Regions from separate parts of the Homo sapiens genome. Here all the other regions are linked to region 2. Evidence: promoter capture Hi-C in 16 types of primary human blood cells and fetal thymus (Javierre and others, 2016). All regions are on one chromosome and are shown on one strand. Each heading gives the region's core, a stretch centred on a gene start or on the middle of the fragment in contact. The rest is flanking DNA. Distances are from core to core; before and after follow the strand shown. Region 1 holds the start of ZNF383 (zinc finger protein 383). Region 2 holds the start of ZNF470 (zinc finger protein 470). Region 3 overlaps ZNF585B (zinc finger protein 585B). Region 4 overlaps ZNF607 (zinc finger protein 607).

Region 1 (2,700 bases), core at 191-2,690, about 19 Mb before region 2:
AATTAGTTGGGGGTGGTGGTGCACACCTGCAGTCCCAGCTACTCAGGAGGATCGACTAAACCCAGGAGGTCAAGGCTGTGGTGAGCTATGTTAACACCACTGCACTCCAGACTAGGCAACAGAGCAAGACCCTGTCTCAAAAAAAAAAAAAAAAAAAAACTGAGAAGGTAAGCCCCAGGCAGGGAGAGAATATTTGCAATTTGCAATATGTATATTTGGCAAAGGACTTTTACCCAAACATATAAAGAATTGTTACAACTCAATAATAACCAATTTTAAAATAAGAAAATTTTATTTATTTATTTATTTATTATTATTTTTTGAGATGCAGTTTTGCTCTTGTTGCCCTAGCTGGAGTGCAACAGTGTGATCTCAGCTCACAGCAACCTCTGCCTCCCGGGTTCAAGTGATTCTCCTGCAGGGATTACAGGCATGCACCGCCACGCCTGGCCAATTTCGTATTTTTAGTAGAGACGGTGTTTCTCCACGTTGGTCAGGGTGGTCTCGAACTCCCAACCTCAGGTGATCTGCCCGCCTCAGCCTCCCAAAGTGCTAGGATTACAGGCGTGAGCCACTGCGCCCAGCCGAATATTTTCAATAGATGTCACAAAAGAAGATAAAAGAATGGCAAATAAGTATATGAAAGTATGCTAAGTTCATTGACATCAGGAAATGCAAATTAAAAACATAATTTGATACTACTGCTCATTCCTTAGAATAGTCAATAGATGCCTGATGTGGGGTTTGGGAGGTGGGGATTGACTTAACAATGTGGGGGGCAGAGGGCGGTGAATAAAAATATTCTATATCCGCCGGGCGCGGTGGCTCACGCTTGTAATCTCAGCACTTTGGGAGGCCGAGGCGAGCGGATCACGAAGTCAGAAGTTCGAGGTCGGGAGTTCGAGACCAGCCTGTGAGCTCGAACCCTGTCTCTACTAAAAATACAAAAATTAGCCAGGCATGGTGGCGGGCACCTGTAATACCAGCTACTCGGAAGGCTGAGGCAGGAGAATCGCTTGAACCCGGGAGGCGGAACTTGCAGTGAGCCGAGATCTCGCCACTGCAGTCCAGCCTGGGTGACAGCTAGACTCCAACTCAAAAAAAAAAAAAAAAAAATTCTATATCCAGTAACACTAAGGATAAATGCTTGAGGGGATAGACACCCTATTTTACATGATATGATTCTTACGCATTGCATGCCTGTATCAAAACATCTCATGTACCCCATATACAACTACTATGTACCCACAAAAATTTAACTAAAATGCTTAAAAATTTTTTAATTTTAAAAAATATTCTATATCCTGATTACGATGGTGGTGACAAGGGTTTAGACATGCGTTGAAGCTTACCGAACAGTTCACTTAAAATGAGTGCATTTTATTGTATCTAAATTATTCTTCAGTAAAGTTGATTTTTAAAAAACATGCACACAAATATAATTTACAAACTATAACATTAGCTCGTTTATGGTGTACCATTCAGTCACTTTTAGTGTATTCAGAGTTGTGCAAACATCATTATCTAATTCAAGAAGCTTTGCATTACCCCAAAAATGAACCCTTTAGCTATTACCAATCACTCACAGTTCCCCCTAATCCTGCTAGTCCTAAAAAACTCTAACTTACTCCTTTTCCGTAGATTTGACTATTTTAAATATTTCCTATAAATGCAGTCATACAGTATGTGGCTTATCCACGGATGAAGGCAAAAATGACGATTTAGTCAGTCTAGCATTCTCAGAGAGCGTTATAACGCCTAGTACAGTCCGGGGTCCTGGGTGCGTTCTGCACTGAGTCGGCTTGGGGCAGGAAGTCATTTAAGCGACCTCCTTCCACTTGCCCCAGCGCCTCACCCCTTCCTGCTCTAGACTACAGTTCCCAAAAATCCTTGCGGCTCTAGTCAACATCTGGCCCGAAGCTGGCGACCTTTTCCTGTTTCTCAGGGAACTCCCTGGGGTTGGCCGGTACCATGGAGGAAGATTGTCTTCAGCGTGCAGGGCCAGCGTCCTACGGCAGTTTCACTCTGAGCCTGTGTCTGGATCACGGAGACGCGGGGTAGCGGTTCGGAGTGCGGAGCAGGGATGTCCCCGAGCTGTGCAGCTGCAAGAACCCGAAAAAACAGGCGCCATCTTCTCGGCGCGGTCCTACTCCGGACTGTATTTCCCAGAGGCCCCCGCGAGTCCAGGGCAGCCCCTTCATTTGCCTGCTGGACCCTCCGCCTCAAGGGTAGGGGAAGTGCGCGGTGAGCGGCCTGGGTCTTGCAGGCTCGGCTGGGGCCCGCAGGTACGTGCATGGGAGTTTGAAGGGACTGACCAGGCTGGTCTGGAGTGTTGGGCATGTATGAGTGTGTCGGGCATGTATGAGTTGGTCGGGCTGATAGAGGGGGTGGTGGGGAGGCGGGCGCGAGGCGTGGGCTTCCGTGTGTGAGTGTGACCTTATGTGACTGTGCCTCTCTGTGTGCGCGGGTGTGATTGTATATCCTCGTTGTAGTTGTGTAATTGTAACAATGTAAGGCTGTATGTGTAGGTATGACTGTGTCCCGTGTTGGGACTGTGATTGTGTGTGGCTGTGTAACTTTGCGTGACATTTGTGGAGGGTGTTTGTGTGGAGAGAATCTGATGAGGCTGTGACTGTGTGTTAGTCTGAGGGGTGTGTGTAATTGTGTTTGTATGACTGTTAGCAGCACTTAAGTGTACTG
Region 2 (2,818 bases), core at 319-2,818:
TTATGTATTTTTCTTTCTCGGGATTTTGGGGTGTCAGTTACCTTTCTATCTTCAGTTCTCTGATGGATCTAAGAAAAGTTGATTTTCAGTTTGTTGAATGATTTTGTTGTTGTGAAGATGGGAATGAAGGCTTCCGAGCTCTTTATATGCCAGAGCTAAAATGAGAATATTATCATTTTCATCCAACTCAAATAACCACAAACGTTACAAGCTCTAAGATGATATTTGCTGTTTCATAGTTAAAGTATCTTCACAGCTAGACTTGGCTTTATTATGTTGTTTATGATGTCTGACATAAATTGGATCCAGGAGAGTCCAGTCTAGATGTCACTGTGTGGCCTTGGGTGATTGAGTGTGACTGGGAGGGTGAGTTAGTTTCTGGTGAGCCAGTATCTATGATGCTGTATCTTGGTCAGCTGGGGCTGCTATAACAAAATATCATAGACTAAGTGACTTGACTAAGAGACTTTATTTTTCACAATTCTGGAGGCTGGGAAGTTAAAGTGCTGGCACATTCAGTTCTTGGTGAGGGCCCCGTTGGCTTGCAAATGGGTTACATCCTGCTGTGTCCTCACATGGCCTTTGCTTGGTGGTTGTGTAAACATGGAGACCCCTCCTTCCTCTTTTTTAATAAGTGCACTGACCCCATCATAAGGGTATCACCCTTATGACCTAATCTAAAACCAGTTACCTCCCCAAAGTCCCACCTCCTAACGTCATCACACTAGGGGTTAGGGTTTCACCATAGTAATTTTGGGAGGACATATTCAGCCTATAACATGTTGTGTCATGGTGAGACTGGCAATGCTAGATTTCGTGATTTCCTAAAAAATAAAATAAAAATAAAAAACTAAGCACCTACTATGTGCTGTTTTAGTCACTGAGAATATAACCCTGAACAGGACGGAAGCTGTGTGCCTTCTTGGAACCCTCCTTCCAGCAGGGAGAGATAAAATGGGGTGGGGGGAGGTGAGGGGCGTACCGTATATCAGAGAGCAGTAACTAGTAGGCATGAAATAAAACAGGTTCCACACGCGCACCATCAGAAAGTCACAAGTGTGCAAAGCAGACAAATCCCAATCTCCTCACTTTTCTATCGCGTAGGCCCCGCCCGCGCCCCAAGCCCCGCCCTGTCATGGTTTTCCTCTCCAGAGGGTAGCCGCTACGCCTTACCGACTGCGTTTCAGTGCTGTCCCACTGCTCCTGCACACCCCACGCCTGCGACCCTACCCACCACGGACAGGCGCTCCTGCGAGCTGGAAGCCAGTTCTCTGCGTCCTGAGCCTGGCAGCTGCATCTGAACACTCGGAGCCTGGCGATGGCTTCCAGAAACCCCTGCGCCGTGGGTCGCTTCAGTGAAGGGGCCTGTACTTCGGCGACCCAGACTCCGGGCTGAGAGGCCTCCTAATCCAACCAGGAGGACCAGGAGAGGCCCAAAAGGGGACACAGGGCAGTGACCGCCAGGCTTGGAGAGGAGCCGCTCCTGGCAAAGCCAGCGCCCTATTTCTGAACGCCGCCTCCGTTCCGGACTACACTTCCCAGGGGCTATTGCAGCGGAGGACACGCCCACTTCCGGAAAGGACCCAAAGCCGGGCGAGTGCACGTCCCGCCGGTTGCTGAGGAGAAGGGAGGTCTGGGCGGGGCAGCGGCCGAGGCTGGACTGGGGCGCGGCGGGGGCGGTGTCCTGGTTCCTGTGTGGGCGGCGGGCGTGAGCGTGCGCGTGTGGCCTGGTGGCTGTGAGTGCCCATACGTGGTGAGCGTGCGGTGCTGTGCTGAGGAGGGGCGAGCGCGCGCGGGGATGGCGGCCCGGTGTGTGACTGTCCGGTGCGTGGCCGCGAATCTGCGCCTGCGTGCATGGCCCGGCGGCGTGCGGAAGGCGGTGTGTGTTGGAATGAGTGAAGCACTTTAAGTGGCCAAGAGCAGGAAACCCGGCCGGAGGAGGCTTACCCCGTTCTCCCCTGTATCGACTGCGTAGAGCCCAGTGTGGGCAAAGTCCTAGAGCCCGGGGAAGTTGCCCGGGCGGGGCAGCCTCGGCTGAAGCATTTCCTGTCAGCCCTATCTGGAAGGGGCAGAGCCCAGGACAGGGCTCCATGTCCACAGGACGGCGAGGAGCGAAGACCATGGGGACTGAGTACACAGGTAAGAGTGACAGATGACGGATGTGGCTGCCGGAGTGGACATTGAGGTTTTGGGTGCTGTCTTTCGGGGTTCAGGTGCTGGAGGAGGATGTCCCCCGTTTCTAAGGCTAGTGGACCTGGAAGTCGAAAGATTTGGAGGGTCACCTTGGGTCAGAGTGGAGCTGGGTTTAGTTAGGGAGGGACCTTGACTTGGCCAGAGACACCTAACCAGATAACCTGACTCAGGTCCTTGGTATATCACTAAGGGCCCATGGGAGAGAACACTACCCGTAATATTACCCATTATAGCATTACTTCTGGGTACTCTGCTGCTGTTGAAGGAATAGCTCAGCATTTAGATTTTTACCCGTCAGAGCCTTGTCCCATCTATCACTGTAGGATTTGGGAAGAAGGCGAGATTCACAGCTTCACCCAGAAATGCCGAGGCATTCCAGCCTTTCTATGGCTTAATCACGTTCTAGTCAATAACGGAAGATATCCCCATTCCTTGGGCTTCTCTCCCTCCCCTCTGGCCTCCCACTCCAATAAAGAGAAAGGGGGAGGAAGGGCTATTTTTAGCCATATTGTTCTGTGCTTGTTTAGTTTCCTGCATGCTATAGTAATAGCTAATGTTTAATGAGTGTTTATTATGTGCCAGACACAGTTCTAAGACCTTTTGGGAGTATCAGCACCAAACTTCA
Region 3 (2,700 bases), core at 87-2,586, about 19 Mb before region 2:
TTGGAGTTCGAGACCAGCCTGGCCAACATGGTGAAATGCCGTCTCTATTAAAAATACAAAAAATTAGCCAGGCTGGTGGCACGTGCCTGTAGTCCCAGCTATTTGGGAGGCTGAGGAGGGAGAATCACTTGAACTTGGGAGGTGGAGTTTGCAGTGAGCTGAGATTATGCCACGGCACTCCAGCCTGAGCGACAGAGGGAGACTCTGTCTAAAAAAAAAAAAAAAATCTAGTTTTACATAATTTGTGGAACACAGAAATCTAACAAAGAATTCCAGCTATTTGTTCTGTTCTACAGTCAGTCAATCACTCATTTTTCAAAACTGGCCATTGAAATAGGCTGTCTTGGCTGGGCCCGGTGGCTCATGCCTGTAATCCCATCACTTTGGGACGCCGAGGTAGGTGGATCACGAGGTCAGACGTTCAAGACCAGTGTGGCCAACATAGTGAAACCCTGTCTCTACTAAAAATACAAAAAATTAGCCGGGCATGGCGAGCACCTGTAATCCCAGCTACTCAGGAGGCTTAGGCAGGAGAATCGCTTGAACCTGGGAGGCGGAGGTTGCAGTCAGCCGAGATCATGCCACTGCATTCCAGCCCGGGATACAGAGCAAGACTCCATCTCAAAAAAAGAAAGAAAGAAAGAAATAGGCTGCCTTTTAGTCTTCTAGCACATGGATGAACAACCTGCCACACAGTGGCTGATCAATTTAGGACCAGTCATTATGCTACTCCTGAGGACACAGAAATGAATTATTTATGTTACTAGTCTTCACGCAACCTGAAATACATAGAAAATAAATAAGACCAAAGTTTGAAAAAGTGAAGACATTAAGTTCATTAAGGTGCTGAAAAGTAGATCTCTATCTGAGACACCCTGAGGGCTAAAAAGAAGAAAAAGTGCATTCTACATGAGGAAATAAGTTTACATTTCATAGAGCGGAAGAATTTAACTTGGAAGATAAGAAGAGTAATACAAAGTATGGGGTAAGGGGGACATTGCCCAGCAAAGACAAGAACAAAAAGATGGGGAGATGGGCTCCAGTGAGCCACGATTGCATCACCGCACTCCAACCTGAGTGACAGAGCGAGAACCTGTCTCAAAAAAAAAAAAAATAAAATAAGGCCGGGCGCAGTGGCTCATGCCTGTAATCCCAGCACTTTGGGAGGCCGGGGCAGGTGGATCACCTAAGGTCAGGAGTTCGAGACCAGCCTGGCCAACATGGTGAAACCCCATCTCTACTAAAAATACAAAAAATTAGCCAGGTGTGGTAGTGTGTGTCTGTAATCCCAGCTACCCAAGGCAGAGGTAGGAGAATCGCTTGAACCTGGGAGGTGGAGGTTGCAGTGACCCAAGATTACGCCACTGCACTCCAGCCTGGGTGACAGAGTGAGACTCCATCTCAAAAATAAATAAACAAATAAATAAATATTAAAATACACAATGAGGGCCGGGCACAGTGGCTCACGCCTATTATCTCAACAACTGGGGAGGCCGAGGTGGGTGGATCACGAGGTCAGGAGTTTGAGACCAGCCTGGCCAACATGTTGAAACCCCCTCTCTACTAAAGATACAAAAAATTAGCTGGGCACAGTGGCACATGCCTGGAATCCCGGCTACTTGGGAGACTGAGGCAAGCGAATCGCTTGAAGCCAGGAGGCAGAGGTTGCAGTGAGCCGAGATTGCGCCACTGCATTCCAGCCTGGGCGACAGTGCAAGACTCCATCTTAAAAACAAAACAAAACAAAAAAAAACACCACATGAGTTTAAAGAACAGCAAATAGGGCTGGACATGGTGGCTCACACCTGTAATCCCAGCACTTTGGGAGGCCGAGGCGGGCAGATCATGAGATCAGAAGATTGAGACCATCCTGGCTAACATGGTGAAACACCATCTCTACTAAAAATACAAAAAATTAGCTGGGCGCAGTGGCGGGCGCCTGTAGTCCCAGCTAGTCAGGAGGCTGAGGCAGGAGAATGGCGTGAACCCGGGAGGCAGAGCTTGCAGTGGGCCGAGATTGCACCACTGCACTCTAGCCTGGGTGACAGAGCAGGCCTCTGTCTCAAAAAAAAAAAAAAAAAGAGAACTAAGGCCAGGGCAGGGGCTCACGCCTATAGTCACAGTATTTTGGGAGGCCGAAGTGGGTGGATTGCTTGAGCCTAGGAGTTTGAGACCAGCCCAGGCAACACAGTGAGACCCTGTCCCTAAAAAAATACCAAAAAAATTAGCCATGCCTGGTGGCAGGCACCTGTAGTCCCAGTTACTCGGGAGGCTGAGGTCGGAGGATCGACTGAGCCCGGGAGGTCGAAGCTCCAGTGAGCCGTTAATGCACCACTGCACACCAGTCTGGGTGACAGAGGGAGACCCTGTCTCAAAAAAATAAATAAAACTTAAAAAGTAAGAGACTTACGAATCATACTAACCAAATGCACCTTGTGGACTTTGGCCCCTAATTAAAATGAACCAATCTTAAAAAGATATTTACAACAATTTAGAGAAATGCAAGCAATGGGTATTAGATGATAACAAAGAATTACTGTTATTTTGTTGTAGGTGTGATATTGACTTATTTGTTATGCTAAACAAAAGAAAAAAGAATTCATCTCTTTGAGATACATATCAAAGTATTTTTAGATAAAACATTGTGTTTGAGATTCACTTTAAAATAATCCAGGAGCTGTGTAGGAAGGTGGTTTCAGA
Region 4 (2,700 bases), core at 83-2,582, about 19 Mb before region 2:
TGATCCCCAGAAGGGATAAATATCTTCCCCCATATCATCCCAGCTATAGGAAGCAGATGTTGATCATGAGCATTAAATATGCAGAGTGGCTAAATAGCCTTTCCCATCATCGCTTATATCAACAGAGGTTTCCTGTGTAATGGCTTTTTCCAGGTTTAACAATAAATGATTGTTGCTGGAAGATGTTTACATGCAAGTATAAAGAATGGTTTCCTACGTTTTCTCAGTTTTCCTCTACTGTGAATATTTTGGCAATCCAAAACTAGAGGAATATCAGAAAAGTTTTCTTATGTTATTAAAAAAATACATTATAAATTCTCTGAATCTGAGTTAACACAGGTCATACCAAAGAAACTGCATATATGATTTACATTTTGAAAAGTTCACACCAATACAAATTGATGCCTAATAAAAACTGAACTGTATCTCAAAGCCATTCCACATTGTCTTCATTCAAATTGTTCAGTGGGATAAATCCATTGACACAATGTGCTTTCTTTACTACCTGTATATGCCACAATTTCTCTATCAAATATGAATTCTCTGATGTACTTCAAGGATGGATCTAAGCCTAAAGGACCTTCTGCATTTGTTACATTTAAAGGGTTTCTCACCAGTATGAACTCTATGATGTATACTAAGTTCATGGCTACTATTAAAAGCTTTCCCACACTCTTCACACATATAGGGATTTCCATCAGCATGAACGCTTTCATGTCTAACAAGATATGAGGCACAGTGAAATGCCTTCCCACATCTTTTACATTCATAGGGTTTATCACTGGTATGAATTCTCTCATGAATAATAAGATGTGAAGCATGACTAAAAGTTTCCCCACATTCTTTACATTCATAGGACTTTTCACCAGCATGAGTTCGGTCATGATATATGAGGCTTGTGGCATGACGAAAGGCCTTGCCACATTCCTTACATTCGTAGGGTTTCTCAGCGCTATGAATATTCTGATGGGCTTTAAGTACAGAAATGAACCTAAAAGACTTCCCGCATTTGTTGCATTCAAAGGGTTTCTTACCACTGTGAATACTCAGATGCTGAGTAAGTTGTCCAGATACACTAAAGGCCTTCCCACATTCCTTACATTCATAAGGTTTCTCACCAGTATGAACTCTGCGATGTATAGTGAGTTTATGGCTATAACTAAAACCCTTCCCACACTCTTGACATACATAGGGTTTCTCTCCTGTATGAATTCTCTCATGTATAACAAGATATGAGGCACAACGAAAGGACTTCCCACATTCTTTACATTCAAAGGGTTTGTAACCAGTATGAATTCTGTTATGATGGGCAAGGTGTGCACGCTGACTGAAGGCCTTCCCACATTCCTTACATTTGTAGGGTTTCTCACCGGTATGAATATTTTGATGTATTTTAAGGGATGAATTGAGCCTAAAGGACTTCCCACATTTGTTACATTCATAGGGTTTCTTACCACTATGAATACCCTGATGTCGAGTAAGTCGTCCATGCACACTAAAGGCTTTCCCACATTCCTCACACTTATAAGGTTTCTCAACACTTTCAAATGTATGAGGTGCAGTAAGTTGATGGCCACTACTAAAAGCCTCCCCATTTTCTTTACATTCATAGTGTTTCTCCCCTGAATAAATTCTCTGATGCATGGTAAGTTGATACCTACATGTAAAGCCCTTCCCGCATTCCTTGCATTCATAGGGTTTTTCTCCAGTATGAATTCTTTTATGACCCACAAGGTGGGAAAACTGACGAAAGGCCTTTCCACATTCCTTACATTCATGTGGCTTCTCTCCAGTATGAATACTCTGATGTACTTTAAGGCCTGCTTTGAGCCTAAAGGACTTCCCACATTTGTTACATTCAAAGGGCTTCTCACCAGTGTGAATACTCTGATGTCGACTAAGTCGTCCATACACACTAAAGGCCTTGCCACATTCCTTACATTCGTAGGGTTTCTCACCATAATGAAATCTATGATGTACAGTAAGTTGACGGCTAGTCCTAAAAGCTTCCCCACACTCTTTACATTCATAGGGTTTCTCAACATGAACTTTCCCATGTTGAGCAAGGTTTGCAGGATAACTGAAGACCTTCCCACATTCTTCACATTCATAAGGTTTCTCACGAGCATTAATTTTCTGATGCTTTCTAAGGTCTGTAAGATGGCTAAATGCCTTCCTAAACTTTTCACATTGATCAGGTTCCTCACTAGTATGAATTGTTTGATGTACCATGAGTTCTGTAAGATGACTAAAGGACTTCTGACATTGCTTACACTCATATGGTTTCTGTCCATTATGAATTCTCTGATGGAGAGTAACACATGAGTGTTTCCTATAAAGCTGCATTTTCCCATCGCTGATTATTTCACATCTTGAATCCAAATCTAGAAGACATAAAATAAAAACATTTTATTGGATGAGAAAATGTCAATGTTATTGTAGAATTAAGAGAAATTCTCACCTATTACAGATGCTAACTCGAAAATACAGTTATAAAATATAAAAAATGAAAGGAGAGCTAAAAAAATGAGTTTGTGCAGTGGAATGCAGCCTTACACACACAGGCACACATACACAAAGAGACACACACACACACAGAGCCCTGTTTTGTAGTGTTTGCCAAGATCTCTGGTGTAAATACTCCCACTGAGGGCAATTTCTAGCTGTCAATTTAATGCAGATTTATTAATATATGTGCAT

Evidence for each region. Contacts are between HindIII fragments. The CHiCAGO score rates a contact against its expected background, and 5 or more counts as called.
Region 1: a contact is called between a fragment that was not itself captured here and the fragment with the promoter of ZNF470 in region 2, in 8 of 17 cell types (non-activated CD4 T cells, activated CD4 T cells, total CD8 T cells and 5 more). The highest score is 14.1, in non-activated CD4 T cells.
Region 3: a fragment that was not itself captured here is called in contact with the fragment with the promoter of ZNF470 in region 2 in 1 of 17 cell types (total CD4 T cells); the score reaches 9.7 in total CD4 T cells.
Region 4: a fragment that was not itself captured here is called in contact with the fragment with the promoter of ZNF470 in region 2 in 1 of 17 cell types (non-activated CD4 T cells); the score reaches 6.0 in non-activated CD4 T cells.

Annotation. Positions count from the first base shown.
Region 1 is chr19:37,215,990-37,218,689 of GRCh38, forward strand. ZNF383 (zinc finger protein 383) reads left to right here and starts at 2,225. Exons shown (of 6, transcript NM_001387601.1): 1 at 2,225-2,285. RefSeq lists an enhancer at 1,851-2,340. The HindIII fragment of the contact is 190 bases long and covers 1,346-1,535 here.
Region 2 is chr19:56,565,900-56,568,717 of GRCh38, forward strand. ZNF470 (zinc finger protein 470) reads left to right here and starts at 1,569. Exons shown (of 6, transcript NM_001001668.4): 1 at 1,569-2,139. ZNF470-DT (ZNF470 divergent transcript) reads right to left here and starts at 2,122. Exons shown (of 2, transcript XM_047439806.1): 1 at 1,174-2,122. The coding sequence starts at 2,122. The coding sequence ends at 1,184. RefSeq lists enhancers at 1,249-1,298, 1,309-1,518, 1,899-2,008. The HindIII fragment of the contact is 7,993 bases long and covers 1-2,818 here.
Region 3 is chr19:37,191,407-37,194,106 of GRCh38, forward strand. All of the region lies in intron 2 of ZNF585B (zinc finger protein 585B), which reads right to left. Among named protein-coding and RNA genes, the nearest start is that of ZNF585B, 18 kb to the right of the region's middle. The HindIII fragment of the contact is 4,429 bases long and covers 1-2,700 here.
Region 4 is chr19:37,697,512-37,700,211 of GRCh38, forward strand. It overlaps ZNF607 (zinc finger protein 607), which reads right to left. Exons shown (of 5, transcript NM_032689.5): 5 at 1-2,384. The coding sequence ends at 529. Among named protein-coding and RNA genes, the nearest start is that of ZNF607, 21 kb to the right of the region's middle. The HindIII fragment of the contact is 1,344 bases long and covers 661-2,004 here.